3 separate regions of the Homo sapiens genome follow, and all the other regions are linked to region 2. The links are contacts of gene promoters, found by promoter capture Hi-C in blood cells and fetal thymus (Javierre and others, 2016). All regions are on one chromosome and are shown on one strand. The core of a region is centred on a gene start or on the middle of the fragment in contact, and the rest is flanking DNA. Distances in the headings are between cores, read along the strand shown.

What was found. The method cuts DNA at HindIII sites, captures the fragments that hold promoters and counts their contacts. A CHiCAGO score of 5 or more calls a contact.
Region 1: a contact is called between a fragment that was not itself captured here and the fragment with the promoter of LINC01926 in region 2, in 8 of 17 cell types (naive CD4 T cells, total CD4 T cells, M2 macrophages and 5 more). The highest score is 8.5, in naive CD4 T cells.
Region 3: a fragment that was not itself captured here is called in contact with the fragment with the promoter of LINC01926 in region 2 in 4 of 17 cell types (activated CD4 T cells, non-activated CD4 T cells, naive CD4 T cells and 1 more); the score reaches 6.3 in activated CD4 T cells.

Annotation. Positions count from the first base shown.
Region 1 is chr18:59,081,945-59,086,496 of GRCh38, forward strand. No RefSeq gene overlaps it. Among named protein-coding and RNA genes, the nearest start is that of SEC11C, 56 kb to the right of the region's middle. The HindIII fragment of the contact is 754 bases long and covers 2,387-3,140 here.
Region 2 is chr18:58,812,062-58,817,166 of GRCh38, forward strand. LINC01926 (long intergenic non-protein coding RNA 1926) reads left to right here and starts at 1,819. Exons shown (of 3, transcript NR_146904.1): 1 at 1,819-2,013. The HindIII fragment of the contact is 11,966 bases long and covers 916-5,105 here.
Region 3 is chr18:58,495,429-58,499,861 of GRCh38, forward strand. ALPK2 (alpha kinase 2) reads right to left here. Exons shown (of 13, transcript NM_052947.4): 12 at 2,621-2,669. Among named protein-coding and RNA genes, the nearest start is that of MIR3591, 46 kb to the left of the region's middle. The HindIII fragment of the contact is 1,220 bases long and covers 1,048-2,267 here.

The DNA of each region.
Region 1 (4,552 bases), core at 1,514-4,013, 270 kb after region 2:
CACAGCAGCATATGTTCAGCTGGGGCCACCGCCCCTTTTGGCTCAGCACAGGTGCAACGCAAAGGAGCTTTGCTTTTCCTGGGCTCAGGGAAAGTTGAAGGCAACCTGAGAATAGGTGCTTCCTGGGGAACGGTGTTGAACCTAACCCCCTTCCTCCACTCTTTAAAATCAGGTAACTAGTGAACTGGCACCCACCCCGAATCTCTCCTCATGTTACATCGGGGCCCAGGATACGTGTGCAAACTGAGCTTCGGAGTCACCCCACAATCCCATGGTTCCTCTACGTCAGCGATTCTGAAACTATTTGGACTCGAGATTTCTTTATATCTTCAACATTATCTGGGACCCGAAGAGCCTTTGTTTATTATGTGGAATATATCTATTGATATTTACTATACTAGAAATTAGAAATGGAAAAAATGGGATAATATTTATAAATTCCTTTAAATATAATAAATTATACATTTCATGCTAACATATTTTTATGGAAAATACCAGTTATTAATTTTGAGACAGAGTCTTGCTCTGTTGCCCAGGCTGGAGTGCAGTGGTGCAATCTTGGCTCACTACAACCTCCATCTCCTGGGTTCAAGCGATTCTCATGTCTCAGCCTCCCGAGTAGCTGGGATTACAGGCACATGCCACCATGCCCAGCTAATTTTTATATATATATATTTTTTGAGACAGAGTCTCCCTCTATTGCCCAGGCTGGAGTGCAGTGGAGCAATCTCGGCTCACTGCAACCTCCACCTCCTGGGTTCAAGCAATTCTCCTGCTTCAGCCTCCCAAGTAGCTGGGATTACAGTCACGTGCCACCACACCTGGCTAGTTTTTGTATTTTTAGTAGAGACGGGGCTTCGCCATATTGGTCAGGCTGGTCTCAAACTCCTGACCTTGTGATCTGCCCACCTTGGCCTCCTAAAGTGCTGGGATTACAGGTGTGAGCCACCACACCCGGCTAATTTTTATATTTTTAGTGGAGACAGGGTTTTGCCATGTTGGCCAGGTTGGTCTTGAACTCCTGATCTCAGGTGATCAGCCCGCCTCAGCCTCCCAAAAGTGCTGGGATTACAGGTATGACCCACTGCGCCTGGCCTCTTTTTTATTTTTTTTTTAAGCTCAGGGTAGGGCATATATTTTCAAAACAAAAAATGCTAGCGAGAAGACTGTCATTGTGCTACAGTTTCAGAAATCTCTTTAATAGCTGGCTAAATAGAAGACATAGCTGATCTTACATCCGCCACTGCTGTCAGTCTGTTGCAGTATCACATATCATGTAGCTTCTGGAAAACTCCAGCATACACTCACTCATAAAGGAATGAGAAGGGAAAAAAGCAAGCATCTTGGTTTTATTCTGAAAATAGTGTAGACCTTATGGATTCCCTGGAAGTCTTTCAGGAACTCCTGGAGGGTACCCAGATCACACTTTGAGAATCGCCGCTCTAAGCCAATATGCAGATTAATGGAATGAATAACCGTGGTGTATTTCCCACCTAAAAGACAGGCTCTGTGCTGAAGACCGACACTGACAGCTTTCGGCCAGGAACTTATCTTTCCCAGCAACAAAGAACAGGGTAAGATACACATGAAAGTTTTAGGGGATCATGAAAAGAAGGAAAAAAAATTCAGAGACAAGACAATTGGAATACCCTTGACTGAGACTCAAAAAGAAAAATGAAACTTTTAGTACATCATATTGAAAATCCCATGGATTCAAAAAGAAGGCAGCATGTATGTAAGCCAAAGTGACGGCATAAGGAGTTCTTTGTTAGAAAACAGGGAAAGAGAAGCAAGAGAGCAGGCAGGCAGAAGGGCAGCCAGGACCATCAGCTCGGGTGCGTGAAATGAGCACGGGGAAAGAAAGGGGTTTCTTTTCTGTTTTGTTTTAAGTAGAATCGTAATTGGGATGGGAAGGGACTTTAGAGATAATCTATTCAAGGACATCATTTTGTAGTGAGGCAACTGTGTTGTCTCCTGCCCGAGTTCACCCACCTGCTCTTCCTACCAGACCACGTGGGCAGTGCACTGGAACAAAATCTCTCTATCAGATTATCTCTCCTCTGTTTGTCTCCCTCTCCACCTCTGTGTTCATATGCATAACACACACACACACACACACACACACACACACACACACACACACACACACACACGTTTTCTTTCCAAATTTCCTCTTAACAAAGTCTAAAGAATAATCACTGTTTCTTGCCTCTATGATTTTTTTTGACCTCCTCTGAACCCCACACATTGACGAAGTGCCAGCCATAGCAATAGTTTCAGACCCGTGGAGTCAGCTGTGCTGTTGCCAACCTCCATCACCTGTCCGCCTTTATCCTGGGCTCTGTTCCTGTGGATTTGAACAAATAGATGAGCGGCATCGGAAGAAAGCTTTAGCTGCATGTGTTTGGGTGACCACGAGAGGGCAGCACGTAAGAGACCAGTGTCGGCCCCGCTGCCTTCTTGAACACACCGGAAGCCTCCTAGGAAAACTGCAGATTTTGTCAGACTGTGAAGTAGAAGAGTCAAAGAGCCTTCATTGCTTCCTTTTAAATGACCAGCCTACTAAGGAATTTAGAATGCCCAAGTAAGGTTTTCACTTAATCCTTTAAGAAATACATCTAATATTTCTAATCTAATCTATCATTTTCAATGGAAAACAGTATTTTTTTTTTCAGTGATTCTCACTGCTTTCTTTCTGAGGAACTTGAAATGAATCTTATGTTTTATTTATTTTTCAATTTCTAAGGTAAGGACTGCTGGTCAGACTGGACTTCAAAATTCCTGGATCCTTAAGACCCAATGCATCAGACAAATGTCCTGCTGGATCCTCCCACCGTCAGCTAAGGGACAGTGCTAGCTCTCTGGTGAGGGAGATCCGTGTGGAGGTCTCTGGCATTCCTGGGTCAGTGGATGGCTGGGAGAACTGCTCAGCTCCAGGTTCCAGGGCCTCTGATCAAAGCCAACCCTGGGGGCCAGCCAGAGATATCGCAAACCTAAGGACTAACGTGGAATCTACACCTGCCTTGGGAGTAAAGAACAAGCAGGGTGCTTTCCGGGATGGCTTTGGGATGAGATGCCCAAGACTTAGTGCCCCTGGCATTGCTCAGCTCTCAAGCTGACTTCCACAGCACCCCCATGGAAGCTTCATTGGTGCATCTTTGGGTCTTGAATGCAGTGCTACAATATTGACGAGGAAAGTCTCCTTGGAACCACAGGAAGACAAAAGTGCAGAGTGATTTGCTGGCCTTGGCTAGGACAGGGTCCAGGGTGCAGCCAAGGGAGGGTGATCTAAGCCAGCCATTCTCCTAGTGTGGCTCCTGGACTATGCGCAACAGCATCACCTGGGAGCTTGTTAGAAACACTGGTTCTCAGTTCCCATGCAGACGTCTTGCATCAGAAAATCTGGGGCTGGGGCCCAGCAATCAGTGTCTCCAAAGGCCCTGAGATCATTCTATTCAAGTTTGGGAACCAGCAACACAGCATTTAAGTGGAAATGTTTATAGTTGCAAAGCCAGGTGAAGCTTGAAATGCATCATAGAGGAAATGAGGACAAGAATGTAGAAAAAGAGTAAAAACAGAGAGGAAAAAAATTTACAAGCCATCATAGAGTGAAAGAGCTTCCCCTGCTGCCTGGGGGTGTGGGAAATGAGAGTTGCACCTGCTCACAAGTATGACCAGCAATTTAATATCTATCTAGAGCTTTCAACCCTGCCATGTCAAATTTATTTAGCTAAAAACAACTCTTGTGGTGGTGACCTTTTATTCAGCTAATATTACTCCCCTCAATGCCTCCAAAGCACACAGAGAAATTGGAGGGCTGATGAAAATCTTTAAAGTCTACTAAATACTAAAGCCTTCCCAAACACTGTGTACTTTTCAGAGAGAGTTTCTTTTTATTGGAATTTCAGATTATTGAAAGGTTATCTGTCTCCTGTTCCTAGAGGGATTAAAATAAAACAAAAGCAAGAAGAACACATTGTGATGTGTGCTTTCCTCGCTGAACTGGTGGTGCTTATCTGACTGCAGTGATGGGCAGCCAGTGGGAAGATGCCAAAGTCCTTCCAGAGAATTTCCCCAGGAACTTGGGAGGCTGAATCACCAGAATGAGAAAGTTCTCTGGCATTCTGGGGATGCATTTCCTTCCACATTGCTGCATCCCTGTATGCTGGAGTTGCATGTGACTGCCCCATGCCTCAGTTTCCTTTTCTGGAAAATGACAGCTTCAGGCTCTTCATGCTTCTGGCAGCCATGATTCCCCTCTGCCTAGCTCTATTCTTTTTCTCTCATTACCTTCCTGGCTCTTTTCTGTGTTACATCGCCATTCCTTGGGTTTCTTTTCTCTGATCTATATATTTTGTTCTGTTTCATAATTTTACATTAATTTTTATTTAATGCCACAAGCCGCTTACCTGCTTTGAGCTCCACAAAACCTATACTTTGAGGTAGAGTAGAATTGGAAGTTAGAAAACCAGATTCTGAATCTTTAAGCAAATCACTTTAGTTGAACCTCAGTTTTCCTACCTGTAAAGTGCTTGCCATGTGCCAAACAGAA
Region 2 (5,105 bases), core at 569-3,068:
ACCGCCAGCTCTGCCTCCCAGGTTCACGGCATTCTCCTGCCTCAGCCTCCCGGGTAGCTGGGACTACAGGCGCCCGCCACCACGCCTGGCTATTTTTTTGTATTTTTAGTAGAGACAGGGTTTCGCCATGTTAGCCAGGATGGTTTCGATCTCCTGACCTCGTGATCCATCCGCCTCGGCCTCCCAAAGTGCTGGGATTACAGGCGTGAGCCACCACGCCCGGCTATTTATTTATTTTTTTTCAGAGACAGTCTCGCTCTGTCGCCTAGGCTGGAGTGCAGTGGTGTGATCTCGGCTCATTGCAACCTCCACCTTCCAGGTTCAAGCAATTCTCCTGCCTCAGCCTCCCGCAAAGCTAGGATTACAGGCGCATGCCACCATGCCTGGCTAATTTTTTTGTTTTGTTTTGTTTTGACACAGAGTCTCGCTCTATCGCCCGGGCTGGAGTGCAGTGGCACGATCTCAGCTCACAGCAACCTCTGCCTTCTGGGCTCAAGGGATTCTCCTACCTCAGCCTCCCAAATAGCTGGGATTACAGGTATGCACCACCATCCCTGGCTAATTTTTCTATTTTTAGTAGAGATGGGATTTCACCACGTTGGCCAGGCTTGTCTTGAACTCCTGTCCTCAGGTGATCCACCCACCTCGGCCTCCCAGAGTTCTGGGATTACAGGTGTGAGCCACTACGCCCGGTCAGCATCAGTATTCTTGCGCTATGGGGCCATCATGAAGTGAAATAAGAATGACTTGAACCCAAGCACTGCAATACAGAGACAGCCGATGTGGTAACTGAGAGGGCTCCGATGTGACTCATGAGTGGGGACATCTATGGCATGGAGATGCTGGACAAAGGGAGGAATCCCACCGCAGGTGCAAGGCTTCATCACACTACTCAGAATGGCAGGTGCAACTTAAAGCTTATGAATTGCTTATTTCTGGAATTTTCCATTTAATATTTTTGGACCTTAGTTAACGGAAGGTAACTGAAACCATGGAAAGTGAAATCATGGTTAAGTGGGGCTATGATAAATTGTGACCACCAAAAACAACAGAATTCATAACTGGCACGATGCAGCTATTTCTCCACTAAGGGCCCTGAGTGTTCTTTGAGTGTAAAATTTGTGTTTCTATTTTGGTGGTTATCTAAAAAAAAGCTAGCATCTGTGTGTTGCAGATCATCTGGCTGATTACCGCACAGCTCGAATTCTGCTTCATGATGCCTGCATTCACATTTTGTCTTGGATTCCAGATGTACTGGCACTACTGAGATGCTGAAAGCTCGGGATCCCCTATAACTGTCTTCTTCATCACCAACCCAAGAGTACAGCTGCAGAATTGCAAAGCCAGTTCTTCAGTGTAACATGCATATTTGATGATCGGTGTCCACCAAATTACAGGCTTTTATCTTTTTAATCTTTGGGAGTGAGAGTAGTTGACTTTTAATTTATGAATTTGTATTAAAAGCAAAAATGTCTGGAGAAAAGCGGTAAACTGGAAATTATGATTGGTGTAATTTACAATAGAAATAGGCAATTTCGAATAAAGAGCAGAAAACCATACCTAATTTATGCATGAGGACAGAATGCATGCTGAAATTAAGACAAGATTGACACTGAAAGACTAGGCAGAAAAAAAAAACAGAACAGAAAAAGAAGAGAAGAGTGGTGGAAATGTCAACAGATTCCTAGTGGAAATATTTGCTCACAGCCATCAAGCTGTACAAGTTTGAAAAAGTAAGATCAACAAAATATATTACAAGGATCTTTCTGAACTGGCTCTCAACCTTTTCTTTTTCCCTCATCCCATTCTATTTATACACATCACAGTCCCAAGAATAACACAAGAAATTCTCCAAGTTTCCAAGAAGGGAAGATGGAGTGGAGGGCGCCCACCCTATCTCCAGTGGACATCCCCTGGGCTACTCCTCTCCTGATGAGAAAATGCTCACTTCAGCCAAGTGCAGAATGGTCCCCTTTGTTTTCGTGGGTATCAGTGGAGAATGAGATCCTTCATGTAAGTAAAATTTCACTGTCACTCATTAGGATGGCTAATATCCAAATAAACAGAACAGAAAATAACAACTGGTGAGGATGTTGGGAAATTGGAATCCTTGTACATTGCTGGTGGGAATGTAAAATGGCGCCATTGTTGTAGAAAACAGTAATGACGTTCCTCAAAAACTTAACCCTAAAATTACCATATGATCTAGCAATTATGCTTCAGAGTATGTTCCCAAAAGAAATGAAAGCAGGCACTGATATGGCATGGCTCTGGGTCCCCACCCAAATCTCACCTTGAATTGTAATCCCCACAAGTCCAGGGAGGGACCTGGTAGGAGGTGATTGGATCATGGAACTGGTTTCCCCCATGTTGCTCTCATGACAGTAAGTTCTCACAAGATTCGATGGTATTATAAGGGGCTTTCCCTTCACTCACACTCTCTCCTGCCGCCTTGTGAAGAAGGTGCCTGCTTCCCCTTTGCCTTCCACTATGACCATAAGTTTCCTGAGGCTTCCCCAGCCATGGGGAACTGCGAGTCAATTAAGCCTCTTTTGTTTATAGATTGCCCAGTCTCAGGTAATATATCAGGCAGTATCTTTATAGCAGTGTGAAAACGGACTAATACAGGGACTCAAACAGATACTTGTACTTCCACATTTCTAACAACTAAACTGTGGAAGCAACTTAAGTGTCCACTGATAGACGAATGGAGAAACACAATGTGGAACATACATACAATGGAATAGAGTTCAGCCTTAAAAGAGAAGGTCATTCTTTTTTTTTCTTTCTTTCTTTTTTTTTTTTTTTTTTTGAGACAGGGTCTCGCTCTGTCATCCAGGCTGGAGTGCAGTGGCGTGATCTCGGCTCACTGCAACCTCTGCCTCCCAGGCTCAAGTGGTCCTCCCACCTCAGCCTCCCGAGTAGCTAGGACTATAGGTGTGCACCACTATGCCTAGCTGATTTTTGTATGTTTTTAGTAGAGACAGGGTTTCACAATGTTGCCCAGGCTAATTTTGAACTCCAGAACTCAAGCACTCTGACCACCTCAGCCTCCTGAAGTGCTGGGATTACAGGCATGAGCCACCGCGACTGGCCTAAATTGTCTAGCTTTTAATCTGCCTCATTGCATCTGACAGCTACAAACTACAACCCTTCCCTGTTCCTGAATTTTCTTCCAAAACACATCTGTAATGCCACTGCCATGCCTGCGAAGCACTGATGACTCTTCATCAGAATAGGCAGAAATTCACCTCCCAATCCGACCCCAATCTACCTCCAATTTACCTCATCTCCTGCACCCCCATCCCTAACCCCATGCATGATAATCATAGTCTTTTTTTTTTTTTTTTGAAACAGAGTTTCGCTCTTGTTGCCCAGGCTGGAGTGCAATGGCGCAATCTCTGCTCACTGCAACCTCTGCCTCCCGGATTCAAAGGATTCTTCTGTCTCAGCCTCCCAAGTAGCTGGGATTACAGGCGCATTCCACCATGCTGGCTATTTTTTTGTGTGTTTTTAGTAGAGACAGGATTTCATCATATTGGTCGGGCTGGTCTCGAACTTCTGACCTTGTGATCGCCTTGGTCTCCCAAAGTACTGGGATTACAGGCGTGAGCCACTGCGCCCAGCCTTTTTTTCATGACTTTAATACTCTAAGGAATGGCACAGCTCCAAATCCTCACAAATATACCTCATTCTTTGTAGTATATGTTTCTCTGCCTTATGAAACTGTACGCTCCTCAAGTCCAAATTAATTCCAACGTCACCTTGATTGGTCCCACACTGACCTCTAGCCTAAATTAATCACTGTCTCCTCAGGAGATTCAGCATATTTGTTTCTACGTTGGATGACCTTTGCATAAGGAACCAACCGGCTGTTTGCTCAGAAGGAGGCTGTGGCAGCATAGGCACTTACACTGTCATATTCAACACACTGAATTCTAGATACCTGCCTGGCTGTCTCTTCTGCTGCAGGATCAAGTCTTATTTAGTTTTCTGTCCCAGTGTCTAACACAGTGCCTTGAATGGGGAGACACTCAGCCATCATTTACTAAATTGAAATGAATTGTGAGAATGCATTGCAGATGCACCTGAATTGGGAGTTACCAAAAAGAGAGAAAAGAGGAAATTGTACTGGAGTCAAAGATAAATTTAATCTAATTCATATTTATGATCACAGAGATCATGTCAGCATATGAAACTCTAGTGCATGAATTAGGGCAGCAGACCCCAACCTTTCTGGGACCAGGGACCGGTTTCATGGTTTCATGGAAGACAATTTTTCCACGGACCAGGGGTGGGGAAGATGAAACTGTTCCACCTCACATGATCAGGCATTAGATTCCCATACAGAGCACGCAACCTAGATCCCTCACATGCGCAGTTCACGATAGGATTCCTGCTCCTATGAGAATCTAATGCTGCCGCTGATCTGACAGGAGGCGGAGCTCAGGCAATAATGGCTCACCAGCCGCTCACCTCCTGCTGTGCTGCCGGTTCCTAACAGGCCACAGACCGGTACCTTCACAGAAGAAACAACCTGGGCCCCTTGCCTATTGTTAGTGTGTCCCTTCCCACAGTCACACCCTCTTGTACCTGTCCCTGGGAGGAAAACACAAGGTATCAGTAAGTTTGAAATTCCCCGGCCGGGCGCGGTGGCTCACGCCTGTAATCCCAGCACTTTGGGAGGCCGAGGCGGGCGGATCACGAGGCAAGGAGATCGAGACCATCTTGGCTAACATGGTGAAACCTCGTCTCCACTAAAAATACAAAAAATTCTCGGGCGTGGTGGCGGGCGCCTGTAGTCCCAGCTACTCCGGAGCCTGAGGCAGGAGAATGGCGTGAGCCCGGGAGGCGGAGCTTGCAGTGAGCAGAGACTCCGTCTCAAAAAAAAAACAAAAAACAAAAAGAAATTTCCCATCCATGAGTTTTTCACTTTTTCATCTTCTTGGTGCAGGGAATTCCAAGTATTTAAGAAAGCAAAATGAGGCCAGGTGCAGTGGCTCACGCCTGGAATCAATCCCAGCATGTTGGGAGGCCGAGGCTGTTGTATCACTTGAGGCCAGGAGTTCAAGATCAGCCTGGCCAAAATGGCGAAACCCTGTCTC
Region 3 (4,433 bases), core at 408-2,907, 320 kb before region 2:
CCAGCCGTCAGTGCTTCTAATGGGTCTTGGGCAGCTGTCCCGGGCCAGATAAGTCACATTAAAGCTGAGAACAAAACCAAAGGATTGGATTTCTTTTTAAATCAGGAGGGGAAAAAATGTACCACTTGAAGCTCCCAGTCGGTCTGGGTTCCTGGAAGCTGTTGACTTGAATTTAAAAGATGTCTTCAATAATCATGACCATCTTCATTTTTGAAACTTCTTGGGCAGGTTTCTTCTTTGTTTTGGTAGAGAGTTGTTCTAAATAACAGCACGAAATTTGCCTACTCTGGTGTCAGGCTAAGACATGAGGAGCGAAGGGAAACTAATATTTATCTAGCTCACTTCCAGTTTCAGGGGCTAGGTGTAGATTAACTGGGGGAATACTCAGGGCAAGCCGGAGTGTCCCCATGCTGTACATCACTGACTTTAAGAACTTAGTCACATGCCCACAGTCACACAGCTGGTATGACGAGAAGCCAGGATTCAAACTAGGGCTGGCGGATGCTTGCATCTGCAAGGTTCTGCAGAACACATGGAGCCTGGAAAGGAAGGCTCCGTTTGGAAAATCCTTCTGGGGTCCAGAAGCCTCCATAAATAGGGCACCATATAATTTATCTTCTAAATGGGTACACTTGTTCAGGATCAATGCTAAAGCGTATGGGATGTGAGGACATCAGGCATAAAATGGTACCATCATGGGGAAACTGCAATAGACGTTCATCCCCCTCATCAGGTAGGCTAGGCAAATTCCTACGATGCCAAGAAGCGAGGCTACTATCAGGAGAAATGGAAGCAGCAGCATCAGGGTATGAACTGGGTCTCGCTCTAAATCCCTCGTTCCTTCCTCCCCACTACATCATAATCCCTCCTAATGCGCTGTCTTCACAAGCCCAAGAACATACCCAATTCCCTGAAGTGTATGCCAGCCAGGTCTCTGGTGAGCACAGGGGAGAAGCCTGGAGACAGTTCCAACATAAAACTTCATCATCACTGAGCCATCCCAGGGAAAAGGTCCAAACCGCATTCTGGTTCTAAAACCCAACTGGAAGCTTTGTGCAATCGGCGAGAACTTCATGAATCAGACTTACTGACCTGGAGGTTAAAAGAAAGAGCGATCCCCTTCCTACTTTTTCAGATTCCTCTACTTCTCTCTGTCCTTTATTGAAGCTGAAAATTAGCATATTTGTTGGATCGTGGCTGACACTGATGGTCTGAAGTAACCAGAAAGCTCCCACGGATAAGTTGTTCTCAGCCTTGGGAAAGGAAGCTGGATTCATCCCACCACTTTATTTTCTGTGTTTCTGATGCTTTGACATCTTGTGCCTTACTGGCCCTGGAGAGACTTTACTCCTCTCAGGGCTGCCATATTCCTAGAGAGAGTAAATGATCACCTTCCAGAGAGCCTTTCATATATATGCAAACCAACCAATCCAGAGCCACACCCCTAATACCCCCTCTGTGGTCTCTCATACTGGGGCCACTGTCCACCTGCCCTAATCACCCCAGTGCAGGTACCAGACACTAGGGCCAGCCCTATGTCCCAGAGACTGCTGGAAAATGTCAAATTAGCCAATCCTAGGACTGTTTATCCTCCCTCACCTATTCCTTCCCGAATAAACCATAATATTCTTGCCTGCATTTTCCCCTCACTTCCTCTGCCTCCCAACTGGCCCTGCTGCTTCTTAGATGGCCCCTGGTGGCCTGGTGCCCCCTCTTGGCAGCTGCAAGTAACAAACTAGCTTTTCAATGGCAACTATCTCCTGATCTGTTGACCTTACGATACCTCATACTAATAAAACCTACATTTTGAAATAGAAGCCATCCCCTCCAAAAGTCATGAGCTCTCTTTTCCTCCCCCTTACAGATGGTCTTAGTACGTAGGAAGAGCAGGAGTGGGCAAAGGCGATGGTGGTTCCAACACAGAATTGCATCTTCACCAAGAACAACAAATGGCTGGCTTTCTCCTCAGTGGCAGTCAAGTAAAGAAGTGGGAAGGGGCAGCTTGTTAAAAAGATGCCCCAGTAAAATGTGATCATAGCATCATCTGTGTGTGCCTCACACTAAGCAAAGCACCACTCTGTATTAGAAAAATAAAGCCATCATCAAAAACAGGTAACTAATCACAGCTCTGCCAGAGACATTGCCTCCTATGATTATCATCATGGGGGTCTGTGAGCTGCCTAAAATACTTTTTGGAGAAAAATTAATTTAAAATATACAAATTGAATTCACTGCATTCAATTGCAAAAAAAATTTTTTTTCAAAGAAGCTTTTAATAGTGAAGATATTAAATGTAAAAGAACGGAATATTCCCAGTTAAAAGGCATCCAAGTAATGCCAGCATTTTCTCCCCGTGGTACTCCTATTGGTTATTAATCTTGAAATGTGTTTGCAAGAGTTCTCATTTGTTTCAAAGTTAAGAAACAAATGTGCTCCCCTGTGAGAACAAAGTCCATAAATATTTTATGTAAGTGAGAGAAATGAATTCATTCCAAGAACATTCGTCATCCACAGTTAGGACAAGAAATTCACTTTGCCCACCTCAGCCTGACAGTGTCTGCCTGGAAGGTGTCTGTAAGCCCAGTGTTAATTGATGCACACTCCATTTTTTCCTACTCACCCTTTAGCCAGCGTTGCTATGCCAACGTCAGTTAGCTTCATTCCTACACCTACAGGAAGAGAAAGCAAAGATGGGAGTTTGTGTTACTCAGGGCCCCTCAGGAAGTTGGGCCATCTAGCCCCAGGGAAGGGGTAATGACAGCTCATCCTCCTTCTCCTTCCTGCATAAACACTCGAGGCCTCTTTCATATACGCATCCAGCTTTAGGCAGGGACCATGGGGAAGGTGGCAGTTAGGGGGAATCAAGTCTCATGTGAGCAGACAACCCAAGCCCTCTCGGCTCTGGAAATGAAGTCCTCTGCCTGCCTGGCCCACCCACCCCATGACAAGGAGGGAGCTGGCCACTCTGTGAGAAAATCTGAGGCCTGATGCTTGTCCCGTAAGCAATCTCCCCAGAAATACGGTGACTTTGGCTTAGGTCTGGCTCCCCGTTCTTCAATGAAAGTGGAAACCCTTACATGATGGAAAGAAAAGTAGGCACGGCCTGGGATAGTCAATGCCAATAGCAAGAGGGTTTGATATGGTTTGGCCATGTCCCCACCCAAATCTCATCTTGAATGTAGCTCCCATAATTCCCATGTGTGGTGAGAGGGACCCAGTGGGAGATAATTGAATCATGGGGGCAGTTTCCCCCATACTGTTCTCATGGTAGTGAATAAGTCTCAGGAGATTTGATGATTTCATAAGGGGCTTCTCCTTTTCCCTTGGCTCTCATTCTGTCTGTGGCCTGCTGCCATGTAAGACGTGCCTTCCGCCTTCCACCATGATTGTGAGGCCTCCCCAGCCACATGGGACTATGAGTCCATTAGCCTCTTTTTCTTTGTAAATTACCCAGTCTTGGGTATGTCTTTATCGGCAGTGTGAAAATGGACTAACACAGGGCTCAAGGGGCATGTGTTTAGTTCAAAGCCAAACTTCAGACATATGATTTCTCATTTCCATAAAGATCGTTTTTCAATTCAGGACTGAAGGTTTTCTGGGTGGTCAGTGTTAGACCCCGGGAAACAATCCTGAGTTCTATGTAGACACTGAACCAATGGCCTGGCGAAGCAGACATTTGGAACACGTGGTCCTTGGACTCATCCTAACTGCTACCCACTAAACCATGGTGGGGATAGGTGGGGGATATCAAAACCAAAACAGTAGAACAGCTACCTGAGCTTCCCACTCTGGTTCAGCAAAAAGCAATAGGCACCCATTGCAAGCATATGGAACCCTTTTTTGCATGTGCCTTTCCAGCAGGAGGGGTAGGGAGGGTAGCTAGGGAGCCAGGGAGGCAAAGGGAATAGACTATCCCACTGTTTTCCACTGTGAGGGAGGATAAGAGCTGCCATCCCCTTCTGTAGTGGAAAGAGCCACCCTCTCTCACTCTACCCCCAGTCTCAGCCTGCATCCTGAACCTCTCTCAGGTCTAGTGGAAAGTAAAGCACTTCCCTGATGCCCAGAGTGTGGATTCCCTCTTGACCTTTCCAGAATCTGCATGCCCTGACCACGCACCAATTCCATTCCTGTCTCCTTAGGGTGAGGGTTATGGGCACTTGCTCCAACGCAGTGGACCTCTGCCAGGACCTTACCCGTGCAATCTAGTGATGACATTTTATCCCATGGCCCATAGTGCCACCCCACCAGTGTGTCTGCACCTGCTAGATGCCTGGGTCCTGCCTCCTGTGCTCTTGCCCCTGCCTCTTGGGCTCCATGGGCCGGGCTGTGAGCACTGGCATTCCCCACCTCCAGCACGTGACTTGCCCATGGAGGGCCCTGGCAGCCTAGAAACCAGTTTGGGCTGTGGAAAGAAAAAAACTCAGCATCCCCCT